Linked DNA regions of Homo sapiens: all the other regions are linked to region 1. The links are contacts of gene promoters, found by promoter capture Hi-C in blood cells and fetal thymus (Javierre and others, 2016). All regions are on one chromosome and are shown on one strand. Each heading gives the region's core, a stretch centred on a gene start or on the middle of the fragment in contact. The rest is flanking DNA. Distances are from core to core; before and after follow the strand shown.

What was found. The method cuts DNA at HindIII sites, captures the fragments that hold promoters and counts their contacts. A CHiCAGO score of 5 or more calls a contact.
Region 2: a fragment that was not itself captured here is called in contact with the fragment with the promoter of DGUOK in region 1 in 5 of 17 cell types (total CD4 T cells, non-activated CD4 T cells, total CD8 T cells and 2 more); the score reaches 6.3 in total CD4 T cells.
Region 3: a contact is called between a fragment that was not itself captured here and the fragment with the promoter of DGUOK in region 1, in 6 of 17 cell types (activated CD4 T cells, total CD4 T cells, naive CD8 T cells and 3 more). The highest score is 7.0, in activated CD4 T cells.

The regions. Positions count from the first base shown.
Region 1 is chr2:73,924,970-73,928,588 of GRCh38, forward strand. DGUOK (deoxyguanosine kinase) reads left to right here and starts at 1,911. Exons shown (of 7, transcript NM_080916.3): 1 at 1,911-2,083. The coding sequence starts at 1,942. RefSeq lists an enhancer at 1,943-2,212. The HindIII fragment of the contact is 7,290 bases long and covers 590-3,619 here.
Region 2 is chr2:74,159,408-74,163,143 of GRCh38, forward strand. The region is part of intron 4 of MOB1A (MOB kinase activator 1A); the gene reads right to left. Among named protein-coding and RNA genes, the nearest start is that of BOLA3-DT, 13 kb to the left of the region's middle. The HindIII fragment of the contact is 5,606 bases long and covers 1-3,736 here.
Region 3 is chr2:74,176,411-74,179,997 of GRCh38, forward strand. MOB1A (MOB kinase activator 1A) reads right to left here and starts at 2,469. Exons shown (of 6, transcript NM_018221.5): 1 at 2,251-2,469. The coding sequence starts at 2,264. RefSeq lists silencers at 129-321, 2,041-2,230 and an enhancer at 1,494-2,177. The HindIII fragment of the contact is 328 bases long and covers 1,474-1,801 here.

The DNA of each region.
Region 1 (3,619 bases), core at 661-3,160:
AAGAATTGGACAAAACGTACAAAGCAAGGAAACAATGAAGCAACAAAAGCACAGATTTATTGTACATCAAAGAACACTCCTTGCGGTAGGAAGGGCCCAAGCAAGCAGCAATTACAGAATTTTCTGGGGTTTAAATACCTTCTAGAGGTTTCCCATTGGTTACCTGGTGTACACCCTATGTAAATGAAGTAGTGGCCAGCGATCAGTCTGATTGGTTGCAGGAGGGGACCAATCAGAGGCTGAAGTAAAGTTATGAAGTTATACCCCATGCAACTAAAGACTTGGCCTGCCACCAGCCTGACTGATTGCCCGCGGGGACCAGTCAGAGGTACTTTCAATTTTTTATCTGCCACCCAGAAGAGGGATTAGCTTCTGGTCCTTTTGTTACTTGGGCTAGAAAGTTGGGGTTTTCCTTTTGATTTAGTTCTAGGAAGTCAGCCTAAATCGGCCTTAGGTTCCCTGTCTCCAGACCCTATTTTCCTGCCTCGTAGCTTTTAGGAGATTAATGCCTGCCTGCAGACAACTTCCTCATTTAACTTTCACAACACCCCTGAGGCAGCAAGATCCTGGCGAGGCAGAGAGCCTCTCAAGCTTTTTTGGATGAATATTTTCCAAGTCTGAGTTTACATAGGTAAAGAAATGTAAGCAGTTTTTTTTTTGTTTTTTGTTTTGTTTTGTTTTGTTTTGTTTTGTTTTAACAGAAGTGGCTGCTGGAGTGGAGATGGGAATGGGTAGGACTTTAGCCGCTCCAGTAGCCATTAACGCCCCACCCTGGTTATCCTTAAAAAATTCGATTAAAAAAAAAGTTCTTAATATATAAACATGACCTCAGCCATCCTATATATACATCAACATAAGAAAAAGGTCCCGTGCTTTTTATGGGAACAGCTTCAAGACAGGTATCCCAGCCCCCGGCCCCTCCCCAGCCCCCTTGCAATCAGATCCTTGTCTTCTAAAACCTGCCACACCTAAGAGCGCTGCCTGAAGGCCGGTTTGGCCTGTTGACTCCTGGTTTTGACTGTTGGTGATTTAAGCGATTGGAACTGGAAGCACCATTTGACAACATTTTGTAAATCATTACTTCTGAGGTTGTTATGACGACGGGGTGTGGCAGTCCGGCTTCACCTGTGGCAGCAGCTTAGGTCCCTGCCCTCCTGCAGAGCACACTTCACCGACAGCAGGACTCAGGTTTTATACAAGTCTCTACTCGCCATTGCTTACGTCCAAGAACCCAGCCTACCAGGTTTAAACAATTTCCAGTCACATACCTGAGCCACCACCACCTTATCCTGAAGGGATTTTTGGGTATAATGCAAATCGATTGACCGAACATTTATTTACTTATTCAAGACACAAACTAAGAGATGGGGTGTAACTGATTATCTAATTTGTTAATTTAGTCAATAATATGCCAGCATTGTGCAGGGGAATTACAGGGAATAGGAAAAAGTTAAATTTGTGTAAATCATCAGATTGAGTCATTTTCCTACTTTAAAACTTCCATTTTCTTCCGATATTAAAATAAAAACCAGACAACAAGCACCTGGGGGGGGGGAAATCCCCTCTTAAAATTACAATTTCTATTTTTAATTTTGTCTTCAGTTATAAAATTTATTTTAAAGTTATACAAAAATGAAGTGGTTGGATTGTGGAATTACGTCTTTTAAAATGTTATTTGTCCAATGAACAAAAACCACTCGCACCGCAACTCCTTTTACTATCAAATTCTGCACCGTTGCAAAACTTCCTTCACTCAACGCTTCTTTACAAACATCGCGATAGCGGAGCGGTCTCTTGGGCGCACCCCGCCGCATGTTCAACCCCACCCACTTCCTGTCTGACGATCTCCTTACGTCAACGGTGCGCTGGAGCGAGTGAGCAGCGATACCTAGGGCGGAAGTGCTCTCGGCGGAAGTGATCGCTGTGTGAATCGTGGGTGGGATGGCCGCGGGCCGCCTCTTTCTAAGTCGGCTTCGAGCACCCTTCAGTTCCATGGCCAAGAGCCCACTCGAGGGCGTTTCCTCCTCCAGAGGCCTGCACGCGGGGCGCGGGCCCCGAAGGCTCTCCATCGAAGGCAACATTGGTAAGGGCCGGAAAGCGGCTGCCAAGCCTTGGCCTCCGCCACGCAGGCGACAGAGGCTGGGAAAGGAGCTGGGCCCGGAATGGCCTGCGTCTGATGCGGCCGGCCTCTTTTTCTGGGCTGCGAGGAGAGCCTTTCCCCTCGCAAAGTGCACTGTGTATCTTTGCCTCCTTGTTTTTAGGATATCGGGCCTCAGTACCCGCCCACAGGAACATATTTGTTGGGGCATAAAAGCCACGCAGTTAGTGGATAGGACAAGAATTGTATTAGCTGTTTGTAATAGATCGAAATTGAAGCGACAAGCGGGTGCAGTTTATTTGTTCTCCTAGATAGGGTTGCCATATTTAGCAGAAATTAAAAATAATATCCAGTTAAAATAGAATTTAAGATAACGAATAATTTTTAGTGTGTGTCCAATGCAATATTTGGGACATCCTTACAGCAAAACAACAACGAAATCACTCATTGAAAGTTCAAATTTAACTGTGTCCTGTATTTTATCTGGCAACCCTATTCGAAGAGAGTTCCTAAATTTCAGTCGTTCAAATACCACATTCACAATTTTTGCCCTGTGCCTGTGCTAGTTGCATAATAATTTCTTAAGGCTTTTCTTAGAAGAACCTCACTTTTTAAACTTAAAAACATGTATTAAATTAAAAATTATTTTGTTAAAAGAGTGAGATCCAGTATCTTGAATAAAAAGTAGTCAGAAAGCAAAATGAAGGCAAAGCATTTCGATTTAATATTAATAAATTCTGACTTGATACTTTTATCTACCAAGTCACTGAGCCCCTAAAAGGGGCTTAGCAAGTGTTGAGTACTGAAGACGTAGCAGCAAACTGAGAATTTCTTTTTTTATTCATTCAACAAATCACCTTTTGAGCCACTTCCATATGCCAGCACTGTTCTTGGCCTGGAGAATACAGCTGTGAATAGAACAAATAAAAATCTCTGCTCTCATGGAACTCAAGTAGGGAGAGATGGACAATAAACAACATAAATTAAGCAAGGTGAACAATATGTTAGAGAGTAATAAGTATGATGGAGAAAAATTAGGGATGAAGAATTGAGGGAAGTTTTTATTTTATTTTATTTGAGATGGAGTTTTGCTCTTGTTACCCAGGCTGGAGTGCAATGACACGATCTCGACTCACTGCAACCTCTGCCTCCCTGGTTCAAGCGATTCTCCTGCCTCAGCCTCCCGAATAGCTGGGATTAGGGGCACCCGCCACCACACCCAGTTAATTTTTGTTTTGTTAGTAGAGACAGGGTTTCACCATGTTGGCCAGGCTGGTCTCAAACTCCTAACCTCAGGTGATCCGCCTGCCTCGGCCTCCCAAAGTGCTGGGATTATAGGCGTTAGCCACTGCACCTGGCCGAAGTTGTCATTTTAAATAAAATAAGCAAGGCCTCACTGAGAAGGTGACATCTGAGCAAAAAACTGAAGATGAGGGAGCAAATCACGTGGATACCTGGGAGAAGAATCTTCTAGGCAGAGTGAAGAGCAATTGGAAAGGCCCTGAGGTGGAAAGTGTGTTC
Region 2 (3,736 bases), core at 1,122-3,621, 230 kb after region 1:
TGGCCCCCCAAATAACCTGCACTACACGCCACCATGCCCAGCTAATTTTTTGTATTTTTTGTAGAGATGGGGTTTTGCCATGTTGCCCAGGCTGGTCTTGAACTCCTGAGCTCAAGCAATCTGCCCGCCTCAACCTCTTAAAGTGCTAGGATTACAGGCATGCCCAGCCTAACAGCAGAAAGTTTACACACTGCCATGAGCACCTGCAACATATAAACACACACATTCATAAATACACACAAACCTACCTCTGTATATATTTTTTAAAGCCAAGGAAATGAAAACCCAAACCCCAATCCTCACAAAGTACCACACTTTTTTCTGACTGCCTTAGGCACAGGTATCAAATTATGTAAGATGCTGCTAAATCAAAGTTCAAAAATCCTGTAGTTTTAGTTTTTTGTTTTTTGTCCCCCCCCCCACCCCGGAGACTGAGCCTCACTCTGTCACCCAGGCTGGAGTTCAGTAGCATGATCATGGTTCATTGTTACCTCCACCTCCCAGGCTTAAGCAATCTGCCCACCTCAGCCTCCAAAGTAGCTGGGACTACAGGCGTGCACTACTACACCTGGCTGATTTTTGTATTTTTAGTACAGATGGGTTTTTGCCATGTTGGCCAGCCTGGTCTCGAATTCCTGGCCTCAAGTGATCTGCCTGCCTTGGCTTCCCAAAGTACTGGGATTTAGTTCTTTAATATTAGAGAGTTTCTTTCTGAAATTAAATGCAACAAGAGTAAGTATTTTGATCATAAATATTTTTACTTTGTAATTTGTAACTCTAAAGAAATTACACTGGCTCCGTGTGGTGGCTCGTGCCTGTAATCCAGCACGTTGAGAGGCCGTAGTGGACAGATTGCCTGAGCTCATAAGCCTGAGTTCAAGATAAGCCTGAGCAACAAGGTAAAACCTCATCCCTTAGGAAAAAAAAGAAGAAATTACATACATACGCACTCTCTCAATGAGGACTGGAAACTCTCCTAAGCAAAATAAAAAGGCAGCCGGGCACAGTGGCTCACGCCTGTAATCCCAGCACTTTGGGAGGCCGAGGGGGGCAGATCACGAGGTCAGGAGGTCAAGACCAGCCTGGCCAAAGAGACCAGCTTGGCCAACATGGTGAAACCCCATCTCTACTAAAAATACAAAAATTAGCCAGGGGTGGTGGCAGGCAACTGTAATCCCAGCTACTCGGGAGGCTGAGGCAGAGAATTGCTTGAACCCGGGAGGTGGAGGTTGCAGTGAGCCGAGATCGCGCCACTGCACTCCAGCCTGGGTGACAGAGCGAGACTCCGTCTCAAAAAAAAAAAGAAATCTCTTTTTAGAAAACAACGGGGGTAGAGTTTGGTATCCTTCCAAGCAGTGGAGATGGGGATCCAACTGGTTACATTCCTGAGAATTTTGGCTGACAATATCAAAGTCCATTAGAAAACAGGGACAGACAGGTCAGGAGTTCGAGACCAGCCTGACCAACATGGTGAAACCCTGTCTCTACTAAAAATACAAAAATTAGCCAGACGTGGTGACTAAGGCCTGTAATCCTAGCTACTCAAATGGCTGAGGCAGAAGAATCGCTTGAACCCAGGAGGCGGAGGTTGCAGTGAGCCAAGATTGCCGCCACTGCACTCCAGTCTGGGCGGCAGAGTGAGACTCCATCTCAAAAAATAAAAATAAAAATAAACCTACATTAGTTGGCCTTAAAGGCCTGTTCCACAACGCTACTCTTGAAACACATTCTTTTTTTCAATTTTTCAGAAAACAAAGGCTTAAAACACTCTTTCCTTGCATTTTTTTCCCAGCCAGTTCTCAATAACCTGAAACTTATTTTGCTGATGTTTGTGGTTATTCTCCACCACCACCCCAGTCCTCATTAACGTGACTTTTCAGACATTATCCTGGAGCTTACAGGCATGTTTTCCTGGGCAGGATCTTGTATTCATGTATTGAAAAAGCAGATTTCTGGCCGGGTGCAGTGGCTCATGCCTGTAATCCCAGCACTTTGGGAGGCCGAGGCGGGCGGATCATGAGGTCAGGAGATCGAGACCATCCTGGCTAACACAGTGAAACCCTGTCTCTACTAAAAATACAAAAATTAGCCAGGCGTGGTGGCGGCACCTGTAGTCCCAGCTACTCGGGAGGCTGAGACAGGAGAATGGCAGAATGGCGTGAACCCGGGAGGCGGAGCTTGCAGTGTGCTGAGATCATGCCACTGCACTCCAGCCTGGGCAACAGAGTGAGACTCCGCCTCAAAAAAAAAAAAAAGCAGTATTCTGGCCAGGTGCAGTGGCTCATGCCTGTAATCTCAAGCTCTTTGGGAGACTGAAGCAGAAAGGTTGCTTGGGCCTAGAAGTTTGAGACCAGTCTGGGCAACACAGTGAGACCTCGTGTCTACAAAAAATTGAAAATTAGCTGGGCGTGGTGGCACACGTGCCTGTGGTCTCAGCTACTCAAGTGGCTGATGTAGAAGGACCACTTGCGCCTGGGAGGTCAAGTCCACAGTGAGCTGTAACTGCACCACTGCACTCTAGCCTGGGCAACAGAGTGAGAGTCTGTCTCAAAAAAAAAAGTAGATTTCAAAATCAAACATCTTTTTTTATCAGAATGTATAAATGGGCATCTTTCTAATAAAAGGATATTAATAATGTGCATATATTAGTAAAAAATTAATGATAAACAGTTCTGTCTGAGACTAAATAACTGGCAAAAGTAAGATGCAGATAATAGCCTAATGGCAGGGGAGTGGGATTAAGAGGTGGTGGATCAGAATGAATTATTTAAGAACAAGAAAGTGAGAAAAAAGCCAGGCATGGTGGCTCATGCCTGTAATTCCAGCACTTTGGGAGGCCAAAGTGGGTGAATCACTTGAGGTCAGGAGTTCGAGACCAGCCTGGCCAACATGGTGAAACCCTGTCTCTACCTAAAACTACAAAAACTAGCCAGGTGTGGTGGTGGGCGCCTGTAGTCCCAGCTACTTGGAGGCTGAGGCACGAGAATCGCTTCAACCCAGGAAGTGGAGGTTGCAGTAGAGCCGAGACTGTGCCACTGCCCTCCAGCCTGGGTGACAGAGTGAGACCCTGTCTCCAAACAAAAAAGAGAGAAAAGAGGATAAATCAAAAGAATTATTTACCTTCCATAAGCAGAGACTTTAATGAGTAAAGAAATAAGTAATTTGTTTAAATCTAAACACTTTCCAAGCTGAATTTAACAGATATATTCAAGCACAGTCAATATAAAATAAAGATATATGAGAAAGGAAATAAAAGGTTTAATAGCAGAATGGAAAAACTGACCAACAACAAACAGACCAAATGTTAACAACTTGGAAAAAAACTGTTGTCCTGAAAAGCCTCTATAAGACTGCAAAAAGGAATTCAAAAATATGTTGCTCATAAAATACTCTTAAGTTGAAAATGACAAGGAGTGATTTCATCCATGAATACTGATGCCAAACTCTTAATCAAAATATTAACAAATACTCTTCCAGCAGAATATTTTTATTAAAAAATGGAGAAAACCTTATGGTCATAGGCAACAGATACTGGAAAAGCATCTGATAAACTCTATAGCCATTCCTCGTTAAGAACAATTTTTGTAATATAAATGGTGGATATTTTTCATTAATATAATTTTTTAAAAATCCATACACCTCTAACCAAAAGCCAAGATTTCGGCTTACTGCAGAAATACTAGAAGTACTTGCATAATAGTAAGAAGGCAAGAAACGGATGTCTGCCATCATCACC
Region 3 (3,587 bases), core at 388-2,887, 250 kb after region 1:
TAAAGACTTGTATCTAGAATGTATAAAGAAGTCCTACAACTCAAAAAGACAGCCCAATTTAAAAACAGGCAAGGCCGGGCGCAGTGGCTCACGCGTGTAATCCCTGCACTTTGGGAGGCCGAGGTGGGCGGATCACTAGGTCAGGATATTGAGACCATCTTGGCTAACACGGTGAAACCCCGTCTCTACTAAAAACACAAAATATTAGCCAGGCATGGTGGCAGGCGCCTGTAGTCCCAGCTACTTGGGAGACTGAGGCAGGAGAATGGCGTGAACCCGGGAGGCGGAGCTTACAGTGAGCCGAGATTGAGCCACTGCACTCCAGCCTGGGCGACAGAGCAAGACTCTGTCTCAAAAAAAAAAAAAAAGAAAATTAACAAGTGCTATGAGAGGTGTGGGGAAATTGGACCCCTCATAGAGTACTTATGGGAATGTAAAATGGTGCAGCACTTTGAAGTTTGGCAGTTCCTCAAAAGGTTAAACATAGTTACCACTTAAGCCAGCAATTCTGCTCCTAAGTATATACCCAAGAGATATGAACACATACATCCACGCAAAAACCTGTCACATATGTTCACAGCAGCATTATTCATAATGGCCAAAAAGCGGGAACAACTCAAGTGTCCATCAAGAAGGCCAAGTTTTAAAAAAAGAAAGTCTCGGCCGAGTGCGGGAGTGGATCATCTGAGGTCAGGAGTTCGAGACCAGCCTGGCCAACATGATGAAACCCAGTCTCCACTAAAAATACAAAAATGAGCCAGGTGTGGTGGCCGGCGCCTGTAATCCCAGCTACTCGGGAGTGTGAGGCAGGAGAGTCGCTTGAACCCGGGAGGCAGAGGTTGCAGTGAGCCGAGACCGTGCCATCCCCGGAGGCAGAGGTTGCAGTGAGCCGAGACCGTGCCATTGCACTCTAGCCTGGAGGACAGAGCGAAACTCCGTCTCAAAAAATAAAAAAAAAGAAAAAGTCTCGTATTAAGGTCCACAAAGCAACTGTGCATTCACTAATTAAATATCAACTCGTAAGAAAAAAGTGGAGGAGGGAGGAATACTTCTATTAATATGGAAGTTAAATCTAAATCATACAGGCTTTTTGACAAGGTAATCGTATTTTAGAGACCATTCATTTACGAGAATAACCCAAAGGAAGGAAAATGAGACGCAGATAAACATATTCTGAGTAGTGCTATTTTATAATAGTAAATACTGGAAGGAATCCCAGTTTCTCACAATAAAGTGGGTAAACTCTGGTTATAAAAAATAAAAAAAAAACTATATAGTGTTTTTATATTGTATTTAATAAAAATGTCAAGCATGTGGATTACATCCATAACTAAAATTGGATAATTATTCAATCACAAAACACACATTTAAGCAATATACAAGGTAGAGAGAGACACCTGAGAATAAAAAATACTGTGCCAGAGCAATGCTTCTCAAACCTTAATGTGCATAAGAATCATCAGGGAATTTACAAGCTTTTTCATTTTAGCCTTGTTTGGTTGGGCTCAGGCATTATCTCTAAAATGAGATTCTAAGGTATGCCTATCAAGTTAATTGCTGTAGTGCACTAAAATGGCAATACTGTGTTTCTGCAATGGGACTATGAATTTGTTTTAACTTTCCAAATTATTTATAATACTGCAATGTACTATATAATAATGCTGTATGGTATATTACATAATGATTAAAAACACAGGATTCTACCGAGGACAAGAGAAGTTGGTTAAAATCAAAGCCAGTAAGTGGGCAGAATCAGAACTGGACAGAACGATCCGACTCCAAGGCCAGCATCTTAACTTCAAGCTTCTCAAACTGCGGCAACGCACATTCTCCTGGGGCGGCATTTAACACCGACAATAATGAAACTGGACCTATAACCGAGCAACGAGTTAAGTCGGCAAGGACGGTTTCTAGAAGCTCGAGACAAGAGAAACTGGGGGCTCGCGGCTCCGCCCCCAGATCGTCTCCCCGCCCTCGGGGGCGCTCGGGCGGAAAAGTTTGGAGGCGCGACGGCCCCGGGGCCTTTCTACTCCCCAGCCTTCACGCTCCGTTTCCTTTACTTCGACCTTCATCTCTGTCGGCCTCTCCCAACATCTCGGCCTCCCCCGCGGACCCGAACAGAGGCAAAACAAACGCCAGCTACCCCGCCCCCGCCTCGGCCCCCAGGCCGAGCCCTCGCCTCAGGTCCGGGGAGGCCTCCCCCACAACCTCGGCCCGCAGGCCCGGCGCCCGCGGCCCGACCCCACTCACAAGAGGAAGCTCATCTTCGGTCCTCAGAGGGGAGGCGAGGGGCCCCTGGCCCCCGCCTGGATCAGGATTCGGAGCTGGCTAGAGGGAGCGGACCGTCCTTAGCTCACGGGCAGCGGAAGCCGGGCCGCCGCCGCTCGGAGCCGGGTTTCTGGCCGCTGCGAGCCTTTGCAAACCTCGGCGCCCGCCTTGCCCGCCTACCCCACCTCGCAGACCCGAAATGCGGAACCAACAAAATCTCGCGAGCTAAGGTTTCGCTGCGCCGGGAGGGACTTGTCGCGCCCCCTTTCGCTCCGCCTCGTCCTAGAACTCGGCCAATCATCGCTCTCCAAGCCAGGACCTCCCTCCCCCGGAGGCGTGGCGAGGATGGCGGTCCTGCGGAAGGGGCAGTGGCTGGTCCTGCTCTTAGAGTATCTTGGTGCTGCTGGGTTTCGATCCCGCTCCCTAGGTTATGCAGGGACCTCTATAAGCGCTGCGTACTCCTGCAATTTTTAAAATTGTTAATTTAATTTTTACTTGAAATATATTCACATAGCATAAAATCTGTCCTTTAAACATGTACCCTCTAGTGGTCTTTTTCGGTTTTTTCTTTCTTTTTTTTTTTTTTTTCTGAGGTGTCTCGCTCTGTCGCCCAGACTGGAGTTCACAGTTCACTGCAGCCTGGACTTCCTGGGCTTAAGTGATCCTCTCGCCTCAGCCTCCCGAGTAGCTGAGACCACAGGTGCCTGCCACCACGCCCGGCTAATTTTCTCAAAGTTTTTGCAGAGACGAGCGTCTCACTGTGTTGCCCAAGCTGGTCTTGGACTCCTGAGCTCAAGGGATCCTCCTGGTTTGACCTCCCAAAATGCTGGGATCACAGGTGTGAGCCACTGCCTCCGGCTTTGTTTATGTTTTCAAAGTGTGCCAACCATCAGCACTAATTTTTTTTTTTTTTTTGACAGAGTCTCACTTTGTAACCCAGGCTGGAATGCAGTGGTGCAATCTCGGCCCGTTGCAACCTCTGCCTTCCAGATTCAAGTGATTCTCATGCCTCAGCCTCCCGAGTAGCTGGGATCACAGTCGTGCGCCACCACACCCGTCTAATTTTTGTATTTTTTTTTTTTTTTTTTTTTAGTAAAGACGGGGTTTCGCCATGTTGGCCAGGCTGGTCTCGGTCTTGAACTCCTGACCTCAAGTGGTCCACCCGCCTCGGCCTCCCAAAGCTGGGATTACAGGCGTGAGCCACCGCGCCCAGCCTAACCATAATTTTAGGCCATTTTCATCACCCCGAAAAGAAACCCCATACCTATTAGCAGTTACTCTTTATTACCCACCTCCCTCCTCCCAACCCCTGGCAACCA